Linked DNA regions of Homo sapiens: regions 1 and 2 are each linked to region 3. Evidence: promoter capture Hi-C in 16 types of primary human blood cells and fetal thymus (Javierre and others, 2016). All regions are on one chromosome and are shown on one strand. The core of a region is centred on a gene start or on the middle of the fragment in contact, and the rest is flanking DNA. Distances in the headings are between cores, read along the strand shown.

Region 1 (4,619 bases), core at 1,016-3,515, 170 kb after region 3:
TCGCTTGAACCCAGGAGGCGGAGGTTGCATTGAGCCAAGATCGCGCCACTGCACTCCAGCCTGGCAACAGAGGGAGACTCCATCTCAAAACAAGAACAACAACAACAACAAAACGAAGGGTGGCAAGGTACCCATTTAGGGGACCCTCAGGCCCCTAAGTCAGTTACTTGCATTTGACAGTCGTAATGTGAGGAGCACTGAATAAGGCACAGTCCAGGTGCTCAGAAATAACAATGACCAATGGGCCAGGTGCACAGCAGAGATCAGTGTTAGGAGTCAGACCTGCAGGTGTTGCATCGGAATCCCAAGCAGGCACTGGCCCCCATACAAACTCGCCAGGCCTCCGTGTCTTCACTGTAAAATGGAATCGTAACAAGCGCATACCTCACAGGGATCCTGGGTGGCAAACGAAATGGGGGACCAGGGTGGACAGGCAGCATGGGTAGTGGTTAAGAATGCTAACTCTGGAATAAGATGGCCTGGGTTCAAACCTTGCCCCCTCCTCCAACTTAGCTGTGCAACATGGGCAAGTTACTTCACCTCCAGATGCCTCAGTGACTCCATCCATAAAATGGGGACAGTCATAGTATCTGCTTCACAGGGTTTATGTGAGGATGAAATGCATTCACACTTCTAGGCAGTGCCATACTTACAGCAGCACCTGGCACTGGACAAACACTATGGAAAACAGTGCCTGACACAGAACAAATGCACTAAGAGCATTTCCTTACACACACACCTGGAAACCACTTGCTCTAGTAACTGGCACAGAGTGGGTGTGGCATAAATGGTGGGAGAAATTCATCATAGCCTCTTCCCATCTGGGGGTGTGCTGAGATGCTGGAAAAGAGGGTCATCAAAAAAGGAGGAAAAATCCCTTAGCTCTTAAGCCCTAAGAAAGTGCTTCACAGCTTTTCCTTGACCATGAAAAATACAGAAGCAACACCCGCAGAAAGAATAGAATCCTAGTAATTTTGTGTTCTGAATCAAGCTAAGTTTGACCTTTGAGCAAATTACTGGCTCTCTGCTAAGAGTGTACAGACCCATCTATTCATCATAGACTTCACTGTCTGGGAATGAGCCCCGGAGCCCAGGCTCTGCAGGTTGTTGCTGTTACGTAAGCCAGTGCAGGAGCCGTGCTGAGAAAAGGAAACTGCGCAATCTGCTCAGGTTCCCAGGAAGGCCAGGGTCCTTGTCCCACCTGAGGAGCTGACTTCTCAACTGGCAGCAGATTCAGGCATGCACACTGCCTTCGCCGGCCACTGGAAGGGCACTGCTCCCAACACCCACTCACACGCTGCCTGGATGGCTCTGATGGGGGCCACTGGGCAGGCCGGACAGGCTGCCTCAAGGAGCTGGGGACCTGTGGTGTCAGACAAGCTGACCACCCCCCGGCAGGGGTGGGACATACGTGTGAAAAGGGGAGTCTGGGGGTCCCCCACACAGTCCATCTACGCAGATGCAGGCCAAGCTCCCCAGATAAGCCTGCCTCAAGGATTCTGGCCGAGGAGCAGAGGGGGCCCTTCCTGGAGGTCACCTGCCCTTGAAGCAGGTAGAGAAGACATCTTAGTGTGGATCAGTGCTGACATCTGTGGAGAGTGGACTCTCGGCACTTTCTGTCTGTGGACTCACGTCCCCATCCCCGGAGCCCTGTGAGGTGGCTATTATGAGCCCCATCCTACAAGTGGGCAAACTGAAGCACCCATGTCCATGCTACCAGGGAGCAGCAGTGCCAGGAAGAAGCTCAAGTGCCCGGCCTTCTTAACCTCTAAGCTCCAACAGGTGACCTCCAGTATAAGCGGAGGCCTTCCTGCCCTCCAGAAAAAGCCGAGAGTCTCTGTAGCGTGGTTCCCTCCTGCTTCTTTTGAATGAACGACTGGGAGGGAAGGCTGAGGAGACCCACAGGGGCCCAGGGACTGATGCAGGGAACCCCCTCACTGGGGAAAGAGAGAAAGAGTTGGCTAAAGTAGAAAAAACTCGAAGTGCAAGCAGGGCTGTGGCTCCTGCATGACCGAGAAAGCCTCCTTGCCCACTGGAGCCTCAGCTGAGGGCCTTCTCGAAGGCTCTGCTTTCTATATTCTCTCCACTCCCTGACCACGGCAGGCTGGGTTCTCGTAAGGTTTAGAGCCGTCTCAGGGACAGGAGCAACCCCCGCTGCCATGCAGAAGATGCAGAAAGTCTTCTTTTAGAAGCACTGGAAAATACATTCGAACCGGGATGGGCATTTCCTGATGATGTTGGAACACCAACACAGTACCTCAGGGTGCTTTCCACCTCGACAAAGGGCCGAGGACTTTGCCTCCCTGCCTTTATCTTGCGAGAACCTTTGCACTGTGGAGTGAAGGAGCTCGGCTGAAAACTCAACAACTGCACAGCCCTTGGCTGGACCCACACTAGGGAAGGTGTCTGCGAGGCTCGGGCCTGCTCACTGTGCTGTGCGTTGGTCTGCACACACTGGGACTTCGGTGATAACTTACAGAAGGGAAATGGGAGGGGAGGAGTAAAGAAGGGGTTGGACAGTGACACCAGCTTGAGACAGAGAGTAAGAATCCTGGGCTCCCAGTCTCAGTTTCGTCATGAACTTGCTGTGTGATGTGGGCCCAATCTCAGCATCTCTGGGCACAATGAGTGGCCACCAGGGCCTTTCTAGCATTCATATCTTACCCTTCCATGAATGAGCGAGGAACCCGTGCAGCCCAGTTCTGCAGCTACCAGCCACATGGGGCTATGTCAATGAAAATTAGCAAAAGTAAACACTCCTCGGTAGTACTAGCTACATTTTAAGTGCTCAATAACATGACAATTTAAATGAAAATTAATTAAAATGAAAAAAATTAAAAGTTCAGTTCCTCAGTCATGTCCACCACATTTCAAGCACTCAGTGGCCACAAGTGGCCAGTGGTTACTGCAGTGGACAGTGCGGATACAGGACACTCCCACCACCCTAGGGAGTCCTCCACAGGGCAGCATCGAGAGTGTGCAGATGGAGATGTGGCTCACAGAACGTTCGGGAAGCTGCTTCTTTAAAGAAGAATTGTGTGTCAGCTTGGAGCCTATGTAAAAGTAATGAAAGAAAGCTAGATGTGTCTGTTGGGGTAACTAGGTCTGTAACAGGGAAAGTCATCAAGATACCTGAAGGTGAGATAAAATACCATATTGCCACACCCAAGCTATGGTCAGTGGTGAAAGACTAGCGTGTTTCCATAAGATGAGAATACCCATCTGCTGCCTCTATAATGTTGAAATACAATTTGAAGTATTATAAACAAGATGGAAAAATCATCATTATTTGCAGGTGATACGATTTTATACCTAGAAAATGCAAAAGAATCAACTATTAGAAATAGTCAAAGGCTTTAGCACAGGTGGTTGGTTACAAAATTAATACACAGAAACAATAATCTTCTCTATATAGAGGTAAAAATAAGTGTAATTTAAAAATCCCATTTTTAAATAATTTCTTAAATTTACATAAAAATGTTCATATTGAAGAATCTAAAACATAAATACAAATTAAAGAAATAGATAGGGTCTATATAAAGAAAACTTCCACCCTGTACTGAGTAGAGAAAAGATGGCTTACATAAGTAGAATAACACCACAGGAACCTAGGATGTAAAGACGTCAACTCTCCCTAAGTAACTATAAACCCAAAGCAATCTCACTCAAAATATTAACAGGTTTGGATGTTCCATTTTCGTTTTCATTCTTGTAAGGGAGTAGAGGACAGTTTGAAAGTAACAGTATACTTCTAGAGTTCCCAAAGAAGAAGCAGCAAATGATACTAGCCAGGAAAACAAATACTGGAAAAAAAGAATAGGACAATTCACTGTATTAATTGTTAAATCACGCTAAAATGTAAGATCACAGTCATGAAAACAGTAGTATGAAACTGGCTTAGAAATGAACAAAAAGATCAAGAGAAGAATCCTGATAGAAGAGCATATTTGATCATTTAGGTGGTATTTCAAATCTTCAAAGAAAGAGCACTGCTTAGCAAACAACATTGGAACATCCCACAGGTAACATGCAAACGAGAAAACCAGAAATCTAACTCACTCCTCATACCAGAATGTCCAGTGAATTAAAAGCAAACATCAACAACAAAAATGTACAAGTTCTAGAAGAAAACCTACTCCTATACATCTTGGCCTAGGTATGAAACAACCTCAGGAGAAAGGAAGGCAAAATTTCTGCATCTGAACTACAAATAAAAATAATACAAAATTCTATGGAGTAAAAACACCATAAAATCAAATGGCAAACTGGAGAAAATATCTGTAATATGTGCAGTAAGGTACTAATTTCCTTAATAAGCAAATAACTTACATATTCCTAAGTACAGACGATAAACTCACCAGAAAAGTAGCGCAAGATATACACAATCAGTTTATAGAGGAAAAAAAGCAACAACTGACTAATAAGCATATGGAAGGGTCAGCTTTGTTCCTAATTAAGGAAAAGCAAATTCAAACAAGATGATACTATTTTACGTCTATCAGAGATCCTGGCAATGATTCAAAATGATTTCTAATCCCCAGTACTGGTGAGAATGTGGGCAGAGAGGAACTCATGCGATGCTGGGGGTAATACATCAGTATAAACAGTTTGCAGAGCAA
Region 2 (4,832 bases), core at 412-2,911, 220 kb after region 3:
CTGATTTTTTCAAAAGCTTCCTGGTGGAATAAATGCATTTCACAGGTAAGCCCTGGAACAAAACAAGGCTCACTGAAACGAGTCCATTGTTGGCTTCAGTAAAGTCTAAAGGGAAGGTTGGGCCTTTTTAAAGAAATAGGGTCTACATCAGTTGTGAAAATTTTACAAGAAGCATGTGAAACATGCATGAAGTACAGTGTAGGAGGTATATGAATCAGCCAGAATGGAGTTTTAATAAAGACGCTGCAGATTCATTAAGAAGAGAATTCATTAGAAAAACCCTGAGTTGGCCGGGCGTGGTGGGTCATGCCCGTAATCCCAGCACCTTGGGAGGCCAAGGGGGGCAGATCATGAGGTCAAGAGATCGAGACCATCCTGGCCAACATGGTGAAACTTCGTCTCTACTAAAAATACAAAAATTAGTTGGGTGTGGTGGTGCACACCTGCAATCCCAGCTACCCGGGAGGCTGAGGCAAGAGAATCATTTGAACCCAGAAGGCAGAGGTTGCAGTGAGCCAAGATGGCGCCACTGCACTTCATCCTGATGACGGAGAGAGACTCTGTCTCAAAAAAAAAAAAGAAAAAAAAAACCCAGAGTTTACAAATAAAGGCCAGAAGGGATTAACGTTTGGAAATCTGAATTGCTAATCTCTTTAAAAAAAACATTTTTTCTTTCTTTATTATTATTATTATTTTAAGACAGAATCTCTCACTCTGTCACCCAGGCTGGAGTTCAGTGGTGTGGTCTTGACTCACTGCAAACTCCACCTCCTGGGTTCAAGTGATTCTCCTGCCTGTCTCCTGAGTAGCTGGGATTATAGGCGAGTGCCACCATGCCTCGCTAATTTTTGTATTTTTAGTAGAGACAAGGTTTCACCATTTTGGCCAGGCTGGTCTTGAACTCCTGACCTCAGGTGATCCACCTGTCTTGGCCTCCCAAAGTGCAGGGATTACAGGCGTGAGCCACTTCGCCCGGCTAAAAATAATATTATTTTTGAATTGGTAATCAGTGCACAGGAATCAAAAGTCAAAAACACTCTACAAAAGTATTCACAGAGTTGAATCATTCCCACCCTCACACTTTCCCCTACATAACCATTTAGATCAATTTCTTGTTTACTCTTTCAGTGTTTCTTTAAGTAAATATAAGCAGTTCTTTTTTTGTTATTTTCGCAGCATTGAGCCGCCAGCCAACTCTGGCCAGTGGTGCCCTGTAGCCTTTCTGGGAATGTGGGAAAGGAAAGAAGAGAAAGCCTTGAGCAACACTGGCTGGTCGCATGGTACCAGTAGTACTCCCCCACATGCTGTGACAACCAAAAATGTCTCCAGACATTGGCACATTGCCCCTGGTTGAGAATTGCTGGTGGAAAAAAATCACAGCCCCGCAGTTGGTCAGGCCCTTTTCAGACAACACCCCCCACTCCATTACTCTTTGATGTTGAGCCCAGCACAATTTTCAGGTCCTGGACTCCCAAGGTTGGAGCCTCCACTTTTCAGGAAGCGGTTGCATTCGATTTCAGGAAGCGGTTGCATTAGATTTGTAGAGAGTGGGGGCCAAGGCATCATCCAGGCCACCTTCATCCCCTGGGACTGCTACTGCATCCTCCTAACTCATCTCCTGCGTGTTCTACATGCACAGCGGTCCATACCACCCCACAGTGGGCAGCCCCTTGGGGTGCCTTAATGCTCTTCGGATAAAGCCCAGACTTTCTGATGGGGCTTGTGGGGCCCTTCAAAGTGCAGTCCTTGGCTGGGTGTGTAGCTCATGCCTATAATCCCAATACCTTGGGAGGCTGAGGTGGGAGGATCATTTGAGGCCAGGAGTTCGAGACCAGCGTGGGCAACACAGTGAGACCCCATTTCTACAAATAATAGAAAATAAAAAATTAGCCAAGAGTGGTGGCTTGTGCCTCTAGTCCCAGCTACTCGGGAGGCTAAGGCAGGAAGATTGCTTGAACCCAGGAGTGCAAGACTTTAGTGAGCCATGATTGCACCACTGTACCTCCAACCTGGTCAAGAGAGTGAGACCCTGTCTCTAAAAATGAAAGAAATTTAAAAGGTAAGAACCAAGGGAAGTCCTTGCCTGCCTCTCCAGGCCTCTCAGTTGCCTGCTGTCCCTGTTCACACTTGGCTCCATCCTCACTGAGACAACTTTTTTCCCTGGCATACTCCTTGCTCTGGGTTTTTCCCATGCCCTTTCCTTGCCTGGAATGCCATCTCCCACCTTTTTCCTGGCCAGCAAAACCTCTATTCATCCTTCAGGTGTACCTCAGAGCTGACCAACCCTCCCCACATCTACCTGGCCTGGCCCTGGGTCCCAGTTGGGCACTCCTCCTAAATACTCCTAGATATGCAGAACATTTACTTCCTCATGTTGTCATTGTTTGTCTAATTGTCTGAAGCCCCCCAGGAATGTGGCTGCACAAGGACATAGACTAGATGGCCTTGTGACCCCTGTGTCCCTGGCCCCAGCACAGTGGCTGGCAACCAGCAGGTCCCAGTGCATGACTGCTAAATGCATGCACACATGGCACAATGCTTGCAACCAGGCACATGCTTCCCCAGCCTTAGGAAGGGTTACGTTCATGGGGTTAGGTTCACAGACGCTGGAGCCAGGCTGTCTGGGTACACTCTGCACTGTGGGGCTCTACCACTTCCCGACGGTGTGCCCTTGGGCAAATTGCTTACCTTCTCTATCCCACATCTTTACATCGTTAGCATTTACGTCAAGGATTATATTAATCATATGAGCTAATGTATGTTATGTGTTTATAGTAGTGCCTGGCATATCGTCAGCACCATAAAAGAGTTTGCTGTTCTAGCTTCAAAACTCTTCATAGAACTTACACTCGGTAACAGGATAAGAATTTTGATTTCAGGAGGGATGGCAGGTGATGGGATGATGAAGGGAGGGAGACTGGGCAGATTGGAGGGAGACTGGGCAGATTGGGAGTTCCTCATGTGTAAGAGGAAACCAAGAGCCTGCAATTCTCAAGTATAACATTACGCCCTCAGAGAAGTGGGTGGGAAGATTCCAGAGACTTGCTCATTTTACAAACATTTATGGTAGATTGATTTGGGGTCCAAGAAAGGAGAATGAAACTCTCTTTTTTCCATCCTCTCCTTTCGGCCCTCTCTTCCCAGGACTCACATGAATGAACGTCTCTGGACACCTAATCACCATTTATCAATCTCACTTCTATGAGAAAAACACATTTCAAGTACCTACCCTCCAGCTTGTCAACAAATTCATTAAAAAAGAAGGGAACATCAGTTATATAAAGCCATGGTGTTTTTGCCTTACTATCAAGCTTTTGGATGAAATGGAAAAGTTAAATCCGCCCGGGAGGCATTTCTAACTCTCCACATTTAGCCACGGAATAGTTAGACTAATACCTGAATTCTCCATTTACATTTTCAGCTTGCATTCACAGATCTGGAGTCATAGAGAAATTACTGGTGTGGTGTCAAGTCTAAGTTTTAATGCCTTGAGGGGAAGCAACTTCACAATTCTGAACAAGGTTATCATGAGTGGAGGAGAAACATTCTCCTGGTTCTTGAGCCGGAGTTCATGAGCTCACACTTTGGCAGATCTCATCACTGATCATTTGAGCTCACACAGCTCCAAATACAATGGAAACCACTGGGTTATTTGTCAGCTGTTGAGTTCATTTGGTTGTTTAAACAATGCAATCATGCCAGTGGAGTGGGGGCAGGCAGACAGCAAACACTGGCTCCGTGCAAACCTGTGCTCCGTGCCCCGAACAAGGCAAGGGCAATGTTGGCCTGATGTAAGGGTTCTGCTGGGCACCTGCTGTCTCAGACACCTCGGTTGAACTCCTAGCTCTGCTGCTTTCCAGAGTTATTTGATGCTGCAGAACGTCAGTCTGCTTATCTGTAAAATGGGCATAGTGATTTTAATTACCTCACAGAGGCCTAAAAGGGAGGAGTGATATAATCCACAGGAAGAGCTCAGCATATTAAATAATCATGACCCACTAGCTATGACTGCTACTGTCTCTGGGGGTTCAAGAGCAGACAGTAGAATCATACCAGGGGAGAGACCTGACTAGTATGAGCCCCTTGTTGGGCTTTTGGACTTTGAAACAGGGTGAGGAATGAAGCAGAGAGAGGGATGATAAATTGCTTTGCACAATAAATGAAGAGGGATTTGGGGGTTGCAAGCGGGCAAGCTGAGAGAGGATTCGGGATGACATGGGCAGGGACCAGCCCCCAACCCGCTGCCCATCACTGGCCCCAAACCTTGAGTGAGCATCTCCCATAGCAAGGAGCTGTGGATCCTAGTTTTCCAGGATAGCCTCATGGTTTGCACCTGTGGCCCCAGAGTAATCACTTTCACTTTCAGAAGTGTTTGGGTTTGGCTATAAATTATGTCCTAACTATGTCCAACTGCCTTCTGGGAGGTGGTATGTTAGAAAAACCACAGAAAAGAGGCTGCATTCACCTGGGCTAAGACAAGGAGGAGCGAAGAGAGTAGCAGGTGGAGGTAGGGTTGAGATGGGGCAGATGCAGGTGGTTAGAGCAGAGGGAGCCAGGTGAGACTGAGAGAGAGCTAGAAGATGAGGAATACTCAGGTAACTAGCATATGGATTACATTTAGAGTATTTTAAGATACAATTCACATATATTGAAACACAAAAATTTTATAAGCCCCCAAAGTCCCCTGTCCCTCTTTGTTGGCAATCCTTGTTCCCCGCTTTCTACCCTTGGCCAACCAATGATGGTTTAGACTTGGAAATAGTGTCTTATAAGTGGAATCACATGGTATGCAGCCTTTTGAGTCTGCCTTTTTCTACTTTTCATAAATGCAC
Region 3 (4,591 bases), core at 999-3,498:
ATTCAACTACATAAAAAAAATTAAGCTATTTCATACCATAAAACCAACAGGCAGATGACAAAGTGCAATTTATATCACTGATTTTCTAAATAGCCTTCGGTTCTGTAAGAAAAAGTTTAAAACTGCAGTAGAAAAATGTGCAAAAGATATGGACAAATAGTTCACAGGGAAAAAATGAACATTCAACATAAGAAGAGCTTCTCAATATCACTCATATAAGAAAAATGCAAATTAAGATAATAACTAGATACCATTTTGTTACCTATTGGACTTGCAAATTCATGATGTTTCAGAATAAACTAACAAAAAAATGGCTTTTTTTTGTTCTTTTGTCCAGCTTAGAAGAAAGGTGTCTAAATTGGGAGCAAAGGTGGCAATGACGTGGACTTGACACCAAAAAAAAATTTTTTTAAAGAAAAGAAACAAGTGCCTCTGCATTTCAGGGGTTTAGGATTGGCATTTTTAAAATGTCAACAAATAAATGTTCATATCCACACTTGACATTTTTTCCAAGGAGAATTTTAATTGTATAATTGCTGGTAAATTCATGCAGCCAACATGGAGGGCACACGGACAAGATCTATGAGCATTACAAGTGCACTTACCTTTGACCCAGCAATTCTATCTCTAGGAATCTATCCTAAAGATGCTCCAGAACATCTAGAGACAACATATGCTGAAGGTTAGTCATTGCAGTCCTCCTTGTGATGACGAATGCCTGGGAACAGCCTGAATAGCACCAACTGAGGGATGGTGAAATACATTTTGGAACCTCCATGCAGTGGAGTACTACACAGTCATAAAAAGCAATGAGTTTTTTATGGTACTGAATGTTAATAAGTGAAAAAATAAGCTAATGGTGACATGCTCTGCAATGCCACTTGTAAAGAAGGGGGAAGTTATATGTTATTTGCTTGTACTTTTTTTATGTATAGAACATCTCTGGAAGAATGAATAAGAAATTAGTATCTGCAATTGCCTCTGGGGAAGAAACCTGGGGGAAGAAGATATATTTTTTACTGTTTGCCCTTTTGTACACTTAGTACCGTGTATACTTATTTTTGAAAAGCAAGAGTGTACCAGTTGGTACTTTTCTGGTCTCCCTGGTGAGGTGCCCCTGGGTAAAGCCGTTGTATGCCCTTGTAAGACCAGAAGATTAAGATCTCAATTGCTGTTCAATTCAAAACTGTTTTCTCTGCTTGGAGAGCTGGTGGAGAAAATGAAACAATGAAAACCAGAGCTGTAGAGTGCAATCCTGTGAGACATTTCCCAGTGGGGCCTTACTGGCTCAAACCCCCATTTCTTGCTCTAATGTGAACACAGATGTATTTAAAAACACATCATAGGATCAATCTTGCAGCCTGCTGTGCAGAACAAAGGTGCTCCAAAATGCTTCCCATTTGATCGTTGTTTGTTGCTAATTCATTTTGCGAACGCAAGACTCAGAGAGGCCAGTATTTTTTATTATAGTTAGTTGCCAGAATGTGTGAATGAGCTTATTACTTTTAGATGAAGGAAGAAACTATTTAAAAATTACTTTTCAAACTACATGTGACAAAGCCCAGGACAAATGAACAGATTTAATTACATAAAATTAGTCACTCGCAAGAAACAACACCACAAGCATAAATTTACACCATTGTTTGGTAGAATGGTTTGAGACATTAAAGTAAGGAAGGTGAAAAATTCCCGTAATTATTGCAACAAACAAACAGACAGCAAATCAACCCAACAAGAACACAATATCCTTATATTAGGGCAAGAGAACTTATTGAAACTCAGAACACATGTATAAACTCATAGAACTTTCTAGAAATTGTCATAGAATGATGCAACACATTCAAATACAAATAAAATATCCCCAACTAAGAGCTACACACAGAACATTAAATTATTTAAAAACCAGTCCATTTTCTACACGAAAGAAACTCACTATATTAATTACTGCAATACATTACATTTTACCTTTCTTACAAAGGTAAAAGTAAGTTAGGTTGTATCTTAATGGACAAACATATCCTGTAGAAGAGAGAAACTTTTTCCTCTGTGCTATTTTGTACTTGTAATTTAATGACGTGAAATATGTAAAATCTCAACCTGCCCATCCTTGCATTGTAGCTGAGTACTCACATTCCATGGGGTGGTCTTGTCCTTGACTCTTGGAGGGGCAAGTTCAAGCGGCTACCATGCACAGAAGGGGAAGATGATGAAAGGAGAACTCCGTCTCCTAGGGAAGAATCAGTCCTACTGCAGTTGAGCTGCACTGAGTTTCCAGAGTGGGGAGTAATATGATCTTCCAACAATCTTAGGGCAGCACCAAACAGAAACTTAGTAAGTGGATGACTTTGCTTTCATGCAATTAATCAGAGGATCCGATTTGCTGTGTCTTCTGTTGCATCAGAACAGAAAGCACTTCCCAGCTTTGACTTGTTAAGAAGTTCTCAATCAAAACAAATTTTTAAAACGTGCTGGTATTAAGGAATCTCCATCTCTCAGGTCCCATCATGAACTGAGGTGGCCAGAAGCTCCCCCTGAGGCTGGCTCTCCGCTTAGAGCTTGGATGGCTATTGAATTCCCCTGTGTTCTGCACCTGTTGCAGGTGTGGCAGATGGCCAGGTGTGGCAGAGATCTGTCATCATAGGGCCAGGAAACTCCATGGTCAAGAGTCACCAGCTTCCTCTGGACAGTCTCCCAGATGAGGAAACCCAGACAGGAAGGGAGTGACACCCCAAGGGTGACACACCTGAGGGGACTTGGGCTTTCCCTGAGGGGTCAGTGGGCAGTGGACTCCTGTGCCAGGTGGTGAGAAATGGCTCTTCTCTTTCCCAGAGTCACAGACCCCATTGGAGTTGAGGTAGGCTTAATTGGAAAGTGTTAGAGTAAGTGTCTGCGGGTAAAGTTTCCCCAGGAGCAGGGAGGGAAAAGTTGGAAGACTGGCAAGTTAAATCATCCAGCCATTGTTTCCAGTTCCATTTCTTCCTAATCCTCACTCTAGGACTCTAACTTGCCACGTTTGTGATGGTTGCTGGTTTTTAAGATACAATTTGATGAAATTTCCATCAATGGGGTACTGGGTAAGTAAGTTATAAAATAAGCCATATGATCCAGCAATTCTACTCCTGGGTATCTTCCCAGGAGAAATAAAAATGTAAGTTTACACAAAAACTTGAACACACATGTTCAAAGCAGCATTATCTGTAATAGCAAAAAATGGAAACAACCCAAATATCCAACAACTGACTAATGAATAAATAAAATGTGGTTTATCCATACAATGGAATGTTATTCAGCAATAAACAGGAATGAAGTACTGATATATGCCATAACACGGATGAAACTTGCAAACATTGTGCTAAATAAAAGAAGTCAGTCACAAAGGACTACATATTGTAGGATTTCATTTATATGAAATGCCAAGAATAGGCAAATCTACAAAGATAGAAAATAGATTAGTGGTTCACTAGCGGGAGGGATTGGGGGTGATAACTAAGGGTATATAGCATTTTTGGAGGGGTAATAAAACTTCTAAAATTGTGGTGCTCACTGTACACAATCTGTGAATATACAAAAAAATTGAATGCATACTTTAAATGGATGAATTTTATGGTATATGAATTATATTTCAATAAAACTGTTAAAAATTATAATATACAAGCTGGGTGCAGTGGCTCACACCTGTAATCCCAGCACTTTGGGAGGCCGAGGTGGGTGGATCCCCTGAGGTTGGGAGTTCGAGACCAGCCTGACCAACATGGAGAAACCCTGTCTCTACTAAAAGTACAAAAAATTAGCCGGGCATAGTGGAGCATGCCTGTAATCCCAGTTACTTGGGAGGCTGAGGCAGGAGAATTGCTTGAACCCAGGAGGCGGAGGTTGCAGTGAGCAGAGGTTGTGCCATTGCACTCCAGCCTGGGCAATAAGAGTGAAACTCCATCTCAAAAAAAAAATTATAATATACATATACAATGGAGTATTACACAGCTGTGAAAAAGAACGAGGAAGCTATTTATGTACTGATGTATAAAGCTCTCTAAGGTGTGCTGTTATGAAAAAGGTAAAGAAGAGAGCATGTTAACATGTATCCAAAAATTGAGAGGAAGCATATATATATATATCTGATTTTGCCACTGTAAGCATTTAAAACACCAGTGGAATATCCAAGAAATTAAGAAGAGGGGTTACCTATTGGAGGAGAGAACCAGGTAGATATATGGCAGGTGTGGGAGGGAGAGCTCTCACTAAATATTTTTATGCTTTAAATATTTTTAACCGTATGTGTATTACCTATTCAATAATAAATGCACCCATTTGTTAGATATCTTTGTTGAAGATTCATTTGGCTCCTGCTGTCTCTTGCTATGGGATGGACCATGGCATCCCCCCTCTGCCACACAGACAAGGGATTTGGACACTGCCAGTGGGACGTGGGAGGGGAGAGCACCTGACCCGTGATAATAAGGGGCTCGTGGCAGTGATAAGGGCTGGGAGTCAGGGCTCTGGCCCCAGCCACATCCTTGCTGCATGACCCTGGGCCAGCCCCCTCATCTTTGTGAGCCTCAGTTTCCTCATCTGTGAGGTGAAGGTGGTGAAG

The links. Contacts are between HindIII fragments. The CHiCAGO score rates a contact against its expected background, and 5 or more counts as called.
Region 1: a fragment that was not itself captured here is called in contact with the fragment with the promoter of SMIM34 in region 3 in 5 of 17 cell types (M2 macrophages, endothelial precursors, M0 macrophages and 2 more); the score reaches 7.7 in M2 macrophages.
Region 2: a fragment that was not itself captured here is called in contact with the fragment with the promoter of SMIM34 in region 3 in 4 of 17 cell types (M0 macrophages, naive B cells, M2 macrophages and 1 more); the score reaches 7.3 in M0 macrophages.

What each region holds. Positions count from the first base shown.
Region 1 is chr21:34,594,465-34,599,083 of GRCh38, forward strand. All of the region lies in intron 1 of RCAN1 (regulator of calcineurin 1), which reads right to left. Among named protein-coding and RNA genes, the nearest start is that of RCAN1, 18 kb to the right of the region's middle. The HindIII fragment of the contact is 8,670 bases long and covers 1-4,619 here.
Region 2 is chr21:34,645,207-34,650,038 of GRCh38, forward strand. No RefSeq gene overlaps it. Among named protein-coding and RNA genes, the nearest start is that of CLIC6, 21 kb to the right of the region's middle. The HindIII fragment of the contact is 3,295 bases long and covers 15-3,309 here.
Region 3 is chr21:34,421,703-34,426,293 of GRCh38, forward strand. SMIM34 (small integral membrane protein 34) reads right to left here and starts at 2,249. Exons shown (of 2, transcript NM_001367348.2): 1 at 2,131-2,249. The coding sequence starts at 2,137. LOC105372793 (salivary glue protein Sgs-3) reads left to right here. Exons shown (of 6, transcript XR_001755015.2): 6 at 338-4,316. The HindIII fragment of the contact is 10,576 bases long and covers 1-4,591 here.